3 separate regions of the Homo sapiens genome follow, and regions 2 and 3 are each linked to region 1. The links are contacts of gene promoters, found by promoter capture Hi-C in blood cells and fetal thymus (Javierre and others, 2016). All regions are on one chromosome and are shown on one strand. Each heading gives the region's core, a stretch centred on a gene start or on the middle of the fragment in contact. The rest is flanking DNA. Distances are from core to core; before and after follow the strand shown. Region 1 holds the start of DEPDC4 (DEP domain containing 4). Region 2 overlaps UTP20 (UTP20 small subunit processome component). Region 3 overlaps UTP20 (UTP20 small subunit processome component).

The links. The method cuts DNA at HindIII sites, captures the fragments that hold promoters and counts their contacts. A CHiCAGO score of 5 or more calls a contact.
Region 2: a contact is called between a fragment that was not itself captured here and the fragment with the promoter of DEPDC4 in region 1, in 7 of 17 cell types (total CD4 T cells, activated CD4 T cells, non-activated CD4 T cells and 4 more). The highest score is 11.2, in total CD4 T cells.
Region 3: a fragment that was not itself captured here is called in contact with the fragment with the promoter of DEPDC4 in region 1 in 2 of 17 cell types (total CD4 T cells and naive CD4 T cells); the score reaches 8.3 in total CD4 T cells.

Annotation. Positions count from the first base shown.
Region 1 is chr12:100,265,190-100,268,328 of GRCh38, forward strand. It overlaps DEPDC4 (DEP domain containing 4), which reads right to left and starts at 1,890. Exons shown (of 10, transcript NM_001364818.2): 1 at 1,731-1,890. The coding sequence starts at 1,887. It overlaps SCYL2 (SCY1 like pseudokinase 2), which reads left to right and starts at 1,988. Exons shown (of 18, transcript NM_017988.6): 1 at 1,988-2,603. RefSeq lists enhancers at 1,733-1,812, 2,483-2,552, 2,563-2,622 and silencers at 2,183-2,232, 2,333-2,412. The HindIII fragment of the contact is 4,398 bases long and covers 1-2,837 here.
Region 2 is chr12:101,320,602-101,323,740 of GRCh38, forward strand. It overlaps UTP20 (UTP20 small subunit processome component), which reads left to right. Exons shown (of 62, transcript NM_014503.3): 24 at 251-336; 25 at 903-1,028. Among named protein-coding and RNA genes, the nearest start is that of UTP20, 42 kb to the left of the region's middle. The HindIII fragment of the contact is 983 bases long and covers 934-1,916 here.
Region 3 is chr12:101,296,771-101,299,909 of GRCh38, forward strand. It overlaps UTP20 (UTP20 small subunit processome component), which reads left to right. Exons shown (of 62, transcript NM_014503.3): 13 at 2,912-3,067. Among named protein-coding and RNA genes, the nearest start is that of UTP20, 18 kb to the left of the region's middle. RefSeq lists an enhancer at 2,542-3,139. The HindIII fragment of the contact is 2,636 bases long and covers 104-2,739 here.

The DNA.
Region 1 (3,139 bases), core at 640-3,139:
AGGCTGAGGTGGGAGGATCACTTGAGCCAGGGAGGCCGAGGCTGCAGTGAGCTGTGACCCTGCCACTGCACTCCAGTCAGGGCAACAGAGTGAGACCCTGTCTCAATTAGAAACAAAAACAGTTGGCCAGGCGCAGTGGCTTAAGCCTGTAATCCCAGCACTTTGGGAGGCTGAGGCAGGTGGAGGTCAGGAGTTCAAGACCACACTGGCCAACATAGTGAAACCCCATCTCTACCAAAAATACAACACAAAAAAATTTAGCTGGGCATGGTGTCGCACGCCTGTAATCCCAGCTACTTGGGAAGCTGAGGCAGGAGAATTGCTAGAACCAGGAGGTGGAGGTTGCGGTGAGCCGAGATCACGCCATTGCACTCCAGCCTGGGCAAGGGAAAAAAAACAGTCTATTACCTGAAAAAAACAGTTAAATAAATTATGGTATACCCTTACTATAGAATAGTAGCCAGCCATTAGAAAGAATGAAGTAGAGCTATGTTTATAGTGTGCAAGGATCTCATTAAGTAGGGAAAAAGAAAAACCCAAAACAAAAATTTTTTAAAAATGAGCTGAGCAGAACAACTTGTATATTATTATCCTACTTAGGTAAAAATGAATTCCCAACCTATGTAAAAATGTATGTAAATAAATAGAAAGATCTGGAAGAATAAACTTCAAACGAGTAACCTTGGGGAAGAAGGATTGTAATGGTGGCTGATGAAAGAGGATGTACCCTTTTAAAGTGTACAATTCAGTGTTTCTAGTACATTCACAAAGTTGTGCAGCCATCACTATTATCTAATTTCAGACCATTGCATCATTCCACAAAGAAACCTATAGTTCGCAGTCATTCTTCATTCTTCCGTACCCCAGTAAAATTTTAATTAAAATTAAATTTAATTAAAATTAATTAAAAAAATTAAAGAATGATAAGGGAATAACTTAGAACTTCTAGAATGTTTTTTCTAGATTTGCAGGGGGAAGTGGGTAGAATCCAAGAACTTAAGCTCTCTTCTCCAACTATGCATAACCGCAAAAGTATGCCCAACTATACATATGTTTACGATAAAATGACAGAAATAAAAATCCACCACCCTCAAATTCCTTCTGTAACAGAAGTTACCCGTCTAATCACTCAAGAAATCTTATCCCCAGACATTGTGGGCAGAGCGGAGACTGAGGAGGGGAGGCCAGAAAGTGATGGGCGGAGGTGGGCAGGAGGGTACTCGACGGGGTAGGTGGAAAATACAGCGGTACAGCCTGTTTTCCATAGACAGTCTACCTCTCTAACCTTCATTAAACAAGTAGGCTAGATTAAAGAAATAACTCCTCTAGCTCAAGGAATTTGCCCTCTAGTACATTAACCCCTTGTTGCTGTAAGTGTAGCCTAGGGACCAGCAGCATTGGTGCCATCTGGACATGTATTAGAAACGCAGATTATCAGACCCTACTCCTCAATCAGAATTTGCACTTTCACAAGATCCTAGGGATTCGTATGTATATTAAAGTTTGAGAAAAAACGCTTTCCTGCACGCTCCAAGGGCACTTCACCACAGTAACCCCTAAAAAGCCTCAGTCCTGGGTCCCCCAGTCCAGTGCCTGGTAGGGCAGGAAGGGGGCGGGGCTAGGAAATGGGCGGGGCCCTGGACCAATGAGGAGCAGAGTCCCAGCCGCCTGCTCCCTTCAGCTGCCCCCTCCACCTTCACTGCACATTTGGCTAGGATATACAGGGCTACCTGTCCTCCTTTTCCGGCAGAAGCCATCTCTACGGTTCCTGGAACTTGGCCCGTTCAGCCCTGGGCCCGGAAGCTCGTTCTGACTGACAAGTCTACGGAACCTCGGAGTCAAAAGAACCGCCATAAGCTCGCGCGCTGGCTCCTCCCCTGGCACCATAGCCCCGCCCCACCTGACACCCGGGGCGGAGAGAAGTACTGGCTCCGCCTCTTCCGAACCGGCAGGAAGTGACGTCATGCCCCCGGCCGGCAGGTCTTTTAGTCTTTTTCCCCCTCCCTTACTCTTCGTCCCCGGTCCCTCCCCTCCCCACCCCTTTCCTTCTAGCTCCGACGTTTGCGGCCGCGGGGGCGGCGGAGGATATGGAGTAAAGCCAGAGTCAGTGGCCAGGCACGAAGGCAGAGCAGGAACAGCCAGGAGGCGTTTATTAGGGGGGCGGGGGGAAAGAGCCCCAGCACCGCCCCTCCTGGAAGAAGGAAGAGGTAAGTGACCGGCCGCCGGCACCGACCGACCTCCCTCACCGGCGGCTCTCTCGCCTGGGCTCCCGGAGCCGGCGAGGAGGGAATGGAGGACTCGCGCCCGGGTTAGGCCTCCCAGGGCCGCTCAGGCTGGTGGGTGTTGCCTGGTGACGGGCCTGCCGGCGGCCGGCCGGGCGATCGGCGGTCGGCGCCCGCGCAAAGCGGGGCTGGACGAGCAGCGAGCTCCGGGGAGCGGATCCGAGAGGGCCGAGTCCTCGAAAGAGGCCTTGAGGCGACGGGAGACCCGGGATCGAAGTCAGCTGCCGGAGGGAGAGCCCCCCATGCCGGCTCGAGAGCTCGGGTTTCGGTGGTGGAGAACGTAGTACCTTTCGGGGACATTGGACACTACTCTAGGACCGGGTGAGAGAGTTCACCTCAGTTCTGAGGTCCGGAATCCGGTAGCCTGGGTCACCAGCCAGGGCCCTGCCGCCCGCCGTCCTTCTCTGACAGTAGCTTTAGTTCTGGAATGGAAGGTTATTGTGTGTGAGGTGGGTGGGGCAGGGGTTTTGTTAAGAGAAAAAACCCCACGGTTACTCCTGCAGTCTTGTTTTTCTAAACGGGAGAATACGGATGGAGGAGGGTTTAGACCGATAAAGCTTGCAAAAACTTATTGGACTTTGAGCACATACCTGTGATCCGTAATTAAGGAGGCCATATTATCAAATCCACCCTCTAAGGCACTCGAGGAGGCTCCAGACAAGCTGCTTAAAAGCGCTATGCCTGTAGTGACTTCATTGGAAGGTGTCAACTATTTTTTAGTACGTCAAACTCAGGAATTATTTGTGATGACACTTTCTAAAAACATTGGATACTATGAGTGAGTTTTCTAAGTAGCCTATCTCCGTTCTGAAAAATAAATAGTTTAGCAAAAATGCTCCAAATCAGCCTGCCACTGT
Region 2 (3,139 bases), core at 175-2,674, 1.1 Mb after region 1:
GGTAGACCCCAGGGTATGACTGTGGGATGCAGGTGTCAGAGAGTTTTGTTTCCATTTTTACTTTGCATATATTCTGTTCATCTTTTTTTACTTCCAGGAAAATGTGAAGCTGTTGTTAGCAATCAGGTTTAGGTCTTGTGTAAAAATTTAGAATTTTTCAAATCTCATTTAGCAAATAACCACAAGTAAATTGCTATCCTATGGTATATGTATATATGACTTCATTAATTCTGTAAAATACTGTTCTTAGTTGTTGCTACACCAAGATCAAATGGTGCAAAAAATAACCTTGGATTGCATAATGACATATAAACATCCTCATGTCCTCCCTTACAGGTAAGTTACTTGAAGCTTAAAGAACTGTTATTTCTTCAGCTGATTTTTATATTTCTGCCTAAGAGCCTCTTCTAGAATAATTTATTAAAGGCCTAGAAAGTTTCCCTTTTTTCTGAGGTCATCGTATTTCCAAGCAAGAAATGAAAACGAGTAGTATATTTGTTGGGTTGTTCTCCATGATACTAAAATAGAGAATGTTAATTTTAAAACTGTGTTGTAAATATTATGTCATTTTCCTCTTCTTATTAATATAATGCCATAGAATCTTGGTGGTTACTTAGAGAATCAAAGTCACTCTAAGAACTGAGGAAAGCTTTTTGTATCATGCTTTTTTAAACAGCTGAGTTATGGACAGAATCTAATCTTTTCTAATCCGTTATACCTTTTGAAATGTACAAATCTGTCATTTTAGGAGATTTTTTTGAGGATTTTCCTTTATGGATATCAACCATAATATGTACTATATACCTTATTTTAGTTATTACTCTGTGTACATATTTCACTCTTTCATTATTCAAAAGCACTGTTGATAAAGTGGTGATTTGTGCTGTTCTCTGTTTTTAAAGGGAAAACTTACAAAGGTTGCTTGAAGACAGAAGCTTTAAGGAAGAGATAGTGCATTTTAGCATTTCAGAAGATAATGCTGTAGTGAAAACAGCCCACCGAGCAGATCTATTTCCTATTCTGATGAGGTATTTATGCTGTTCAAACACTGATTTTTAAAAAGTTAATAACAAACACAATTGTGAGTACAGTATTATGGTTCTTTCAACAACTGTAATAGAATATTTCATTTTCTATTTTCTTTTGATTGCATTTTCTTTGGAGATGGGGTCTTGCTCTGTCACCCAGGCTGGAGTGCAGTGGCATGATCACAGCTCATTGCAGCCTAGACCTCCCAGGCTCAAGTGATGCTCCCACCTTGGCCTCCCAACGTGCTAAGATTACAAATGTGAGCCATCACCGCCAGCTGCTTTTTTTTTGAATTGTACCTTTGGGAGAAGCCAAATTGGTATAGAGACTAAATTTTGTTCCTAACATAAAGAAAGATCTTTATTTATTTTTTTTTTAGAGGGAGTCTCGCTCTGTCACCCAGGCTGGAGTGCAGTGGTGTGATCTCAGCTCACTGCAACCTCCGCCCTCCCAGGTTCAAGCTATTCTTGTGCCTCAGCCTCCTGAGTAGCTGGGATCACAAGCGTGCGCCACCATGCCTGGCTAATTTTTGTATTTTTAGTAGAGAAAGAGTTTCACCATGTTGGCCAGGCTGGTCTTGAACTCCTGACCTCAGGCGATCCACCCGCCTCTGCCTCCCAAAGTGCTGGGATTACAGGCGTGAGCCACTGCGCCTGGGCCCTAATATAAAGAAGATCTTACCATAGTATTATTGTGACAATAATATAATTAAATTTAATATTTTCCTAAATTTTACTGTTGAGATACAGTAGAAATATTTCACTCTGTTTTCCAAATATCATGTGATATTTAATGATGTTATTATTCCTTTAATTATAAATGGTAGAGCAAAAAGATGATCCATAAATAATACAAAGTTTATATATGCTGGGTATAAAGAAAAATGAAGCTTAAATCTTTCATCTCACCAGCTCTGGAATGATGAGAATTGGAAAGATCATGGGATTGGGATTTAACAGGTTTGCTTTTGGTCCAGCCCCCTACTGTGTAGTTCTATCAGATAGAGAAAGTCTTTTAGATCCACTGGGCTTCTGTTTCCTTAATAGGAGCTGGTTCAGATATGCTCAGGGACTCTGCTAGCACTTATCTAATGGCTCTGTTTAGTTCCATTTGTAGCCAGCATTAAGATTCCATTTATAGCAAGCTTTAAGAACTTTACTATAATAGACATAAAAATATTTGAGGGAGTGAATAAGTGAATATACAAAATTACAGTTATTGGTGGATTACAGAAACAATAAAAATAGAAAGCAGAAATCATCTTATATCCAAACACTCAAAAATAACTATCAACTTTATAATCTCAAAAACAATAGTAAATAGGAAACATCCGCAATACTTGTATATTTTAAATTTCTAAGAGTAAAAAGCAGATGGTTGTATGAAGTCCAGAGTAGTTGAATACAAGCTACCAAAAAACATCTAAATAATACACCCATACAAGTTTTTGAAAGAAAATTGAGATGATATTTTATAAAACGTTTTATAACCTTTTTTCACTTAATATTTTACAAGAATTTTCTTAGATCATGAAATGTTTCAAAATGTGATTCTTCATCATATAGACAAGCTGTCATTTACTTGTGTTGAGCATTTTGCCTGTCTGTAGTTTTTGTTGTTTATTTTGGTTTTTTTGCAAAATAGAAAATCTTACATTGAATACCTATAAATCTTATTCGATTGATGGATTAGAATAGATTCTTGATAGGAAAATTGATGAAAATTTTAAAACTTTTTGGTGTATATTACCAAATTGTTGTTCAGAACTACTTCTTTCCAACCATAAGTTTGAACCACTTTATATTCCTACCAGCAGTAGGATGCCTGTTTCACACCATTCCAACACTAGGGTGTTTGTTGTTATTATTTTTTGATTGTTTTAATTCTTGCTAATTTGTCAGTGATAAATGATATCATGTTGTATGACTTCACATATTTTAGGTTTACTAGTGAAGATGAATTGTTTTAAAAGATTATGGGTCATTTGTGTTTATTTTCTCATGAAATTTTTTTTTAATGTCTGACAACTTGTATTTTCTAAAACCAGGTAAATAATATTCCTCTCTGTTTTCTTCTCATTCTGTTTGTTTTAATTTGATTATTTTATTCA
Region 3 (3,139 bases), core at 172-2,671, 1.0 Mb after region 1:
AAAATAAAAATTATATACCTTTGTATTGTTTCAGTTGTTAAGTGTCATGGATTACTTTCTTAATTTCATTCAAAATGACACATTGTTTAGAAGTTAAAAACAAAGCTTATTTACATACATGAGAAGATTTATTGTATCATTTCTCAAATAGTTAAGTGGGTATGCTTCTAGAAACTGTAGCTTAGGAAACCAGTTCCCTTGTCATTCCTTTGTTTTTATACTTAATCTTCTTATTTCTCTTGGAGTAGTTAGACCCGTTGTTGTGTTTTTGGTTTGCTTTGAGGCGGAATTGATGGGCATTCCTTGAGTTTGTGCTGAATACTCGACTTTGAAACATCCATGGAGGTGGGAGTTACTGTCCCACAGTCACAGAGCAGAGCTAGCTTTTGAGTTTGATCAGCTTGAGGTTCTGGAGGAACCTATTTTCTTTTTTAAATGTTTTATTTATTATTATTATTATTTTAAGAGCAGGTCTTGCTCTGTCACCCAGGCCGGAGTGCAGTGGCACAATCACGGCTCACTGCAGCCTCGATCTCCAGGGCCCAAGCTATCCTCTCACTTGAGCCTCCCAGGTAGCTGGAACCATAGGCACGCACCACCATGCCCAGCTAATTTTTTAATTTTTGTAGAGACGAGGTCTCGCTATGTTGCCCAGGCTGGTCTCAAACTCCTGGACTCAAGTGATCTTCCTACCTTGGCCTCTCAAAGTGTTGGGGTTACAGGTTGAGCCACTGTGTTTAGCAAACTCATCTTAACACCTACTTATATCTTCTGTATACCTTACAAATTGCTTCTCTATTAAAATATGCCAACAGAATCTTGTTGGTTTTTAAATGTATTGAATTCTGATTCCTGAGGAATGGGTAGTGAGTAACTCCAATAGAATTATTCCTTTGAAACTTTTCCCTTGATTTGTCAACACCCAAGCCCATCTCCAACAGGCAGATTCCTTGCACATGCCAAAACTGAGTTCTGTGCAGGGAGAGTGAAGCTGCTTTGTTGTTTGGCTTCCATGAGGTGAAGCTAAGGGACTGACTGAGACTGGGCGTCAGACCTTCTTACCCCATCATCTCAGCCATCTCAGATCCTCCCAGGAGGGTGACGTGTTAAATAAATAAATTTCGATGTGCTAACTCATGGCAAGTTCTTCCACTTCTGTGTTTCTTTCTCTGCAAAAACACCCCTCTGCCACCCCCAACGGAGATATGGTATGTGTGAATGGTCACCTTTGTTTTGATTCCTTCTATGAAGATTTTAAAATCATAGTTTGAATATTACTAGTAACACTCTATCTACCCATCTCACCAGTTTGCTGTGAGAAAAAATAAAGATAATAAATGTGAAAAGACTCTTTAGGAGATAAACTTACTGTCGTTTGACAACTACTTACGGTATCAGGCACTGGATACTGGGGTGCAACAAAGAATAAGAAAAAAGTTCCTTCTTTTGGGGAAAGGAATGTGGTGAGGCGGGTAAGCAAATAAGCGAGATGATTTCAGATCCTGATCGTGATAAAAGAAGACAAAGCAGTGTTGAGAGGGAGACTGAATGGAGAGGGGTCACTTTCCAGAGAGGGAACGTTTGGTCCAATTTTAAGCTGGGAAGGATCCAGCCTTGCAAAGATCTCAGTGAGAGACTCTCCAGACAGAAGGAAAAGTTAACTGCAAAGACTCTGGGACAGGAATAAGCTCAGCATGTTTGAAGTACAGAAAGAAAACCTCTGTGGGTAAAGAGCAAGGAGGAGATTGGGGTGAGAGGAGATGGAGGTGGGTGAGGGTCAAATCACAGAGGGCCTTACAGGATGACTTAAGGAGTATGGACTTCATTGGTGGAGCCATTGGCAGGTCTAGAAAACGGGAATGACGTGGCAACTAATGACTCATTTTTGTTTTTTAAAGCATCTTAGTATTTTGTAAGATTTTTGCAGATTGTTGAGTCATGATTATTACTAAAAAGACTATATATATCAAGATGTGGTGACTTTAAGGAATTGATAATTAAATTAACTTAGTTATCTATCATGATTTCCAGACACTAAACATCCTGGTAAGTATGAAACAAAAGAGAATGTAGCTTTTTGGAGAATTTTTTTTCTTTGTTTTTGTTTTTTTTTTTCCTTCCTTCCCCTACCTGACCATTTTTTGGTGAATTTTAATGATAAAAAGGGTGCAAGAGTAAAAACCTGATATTCCACTTCTATTGCATAACAAGCTAACCAAACTGGAGTTGGAGGATAATTGTAAAACAGATCATTTAACTTAAGATTTCTGTGATTTTTCTTTTGATTAGATTTTTGTCTTTCAAATAGGACCGAGGTGTAGTACATTGGCAAAAATAAAAAGAGGCTAACAAGAATAGTTAGCCTCTATCTAATCTGTGACCAGAGTCACAGATATTCAAAACAGAATGTCATGTCGAAAAATGTCATTGAGCAACTGTGTATCTGATCAAAGCAGCAGGAGAAAATTACTTATATGTCATAATCATTTTAGTGGTATTCGTCAACTTCATCACAGTAACTTTGCAACATCATTCTACATTTGTGGAAAGTAGTAAAATTCATGTCAAAAAGGAAAGGGAGAATGGAGGAAGTCAGTTCATTCCAGTGAATTGTCAATCAAAAACATGCCCAGGAGCACAAAATTGAGAAATCATACTTAAAACTAGAAGAAACTTGGTTTAAGTTATAAAGCAAATTAAAATAGAAGTGAAAGGAAGTAGAGCCAGTGGAGTTGAAAAAGCTTCTCACTGAAAACTCAGTAAATGACTCACATTTGTTTAGCTCAACCACCACCACCAATTCCTTCCCTCTAATGCTCCACAATGGTAAGAATCCAATTTTATTTCAGACTTCAGAGGGCAAGAGCGATTACATTCTCTGTTATTTTAAACATTTTTTTTAATCCTTCAGATTCTATATAAAGCAGAAGAAGACTAGATCCAAGGGAAGAAACGAACAGTTTCCAGTATTGGACCATCTTTTATCTATAATTAAGTTACCCCCAAATAAAGATACTACTTACCTTTCACAATCTTGGGCAGCCCTCGTGGTGTTACCTCATATTAGGTAAGAAAATAAGCTATGTTTAATTTTGAAAGAGATAACATGCTGATTAAAATATGTTAGCCATTCCTTGCT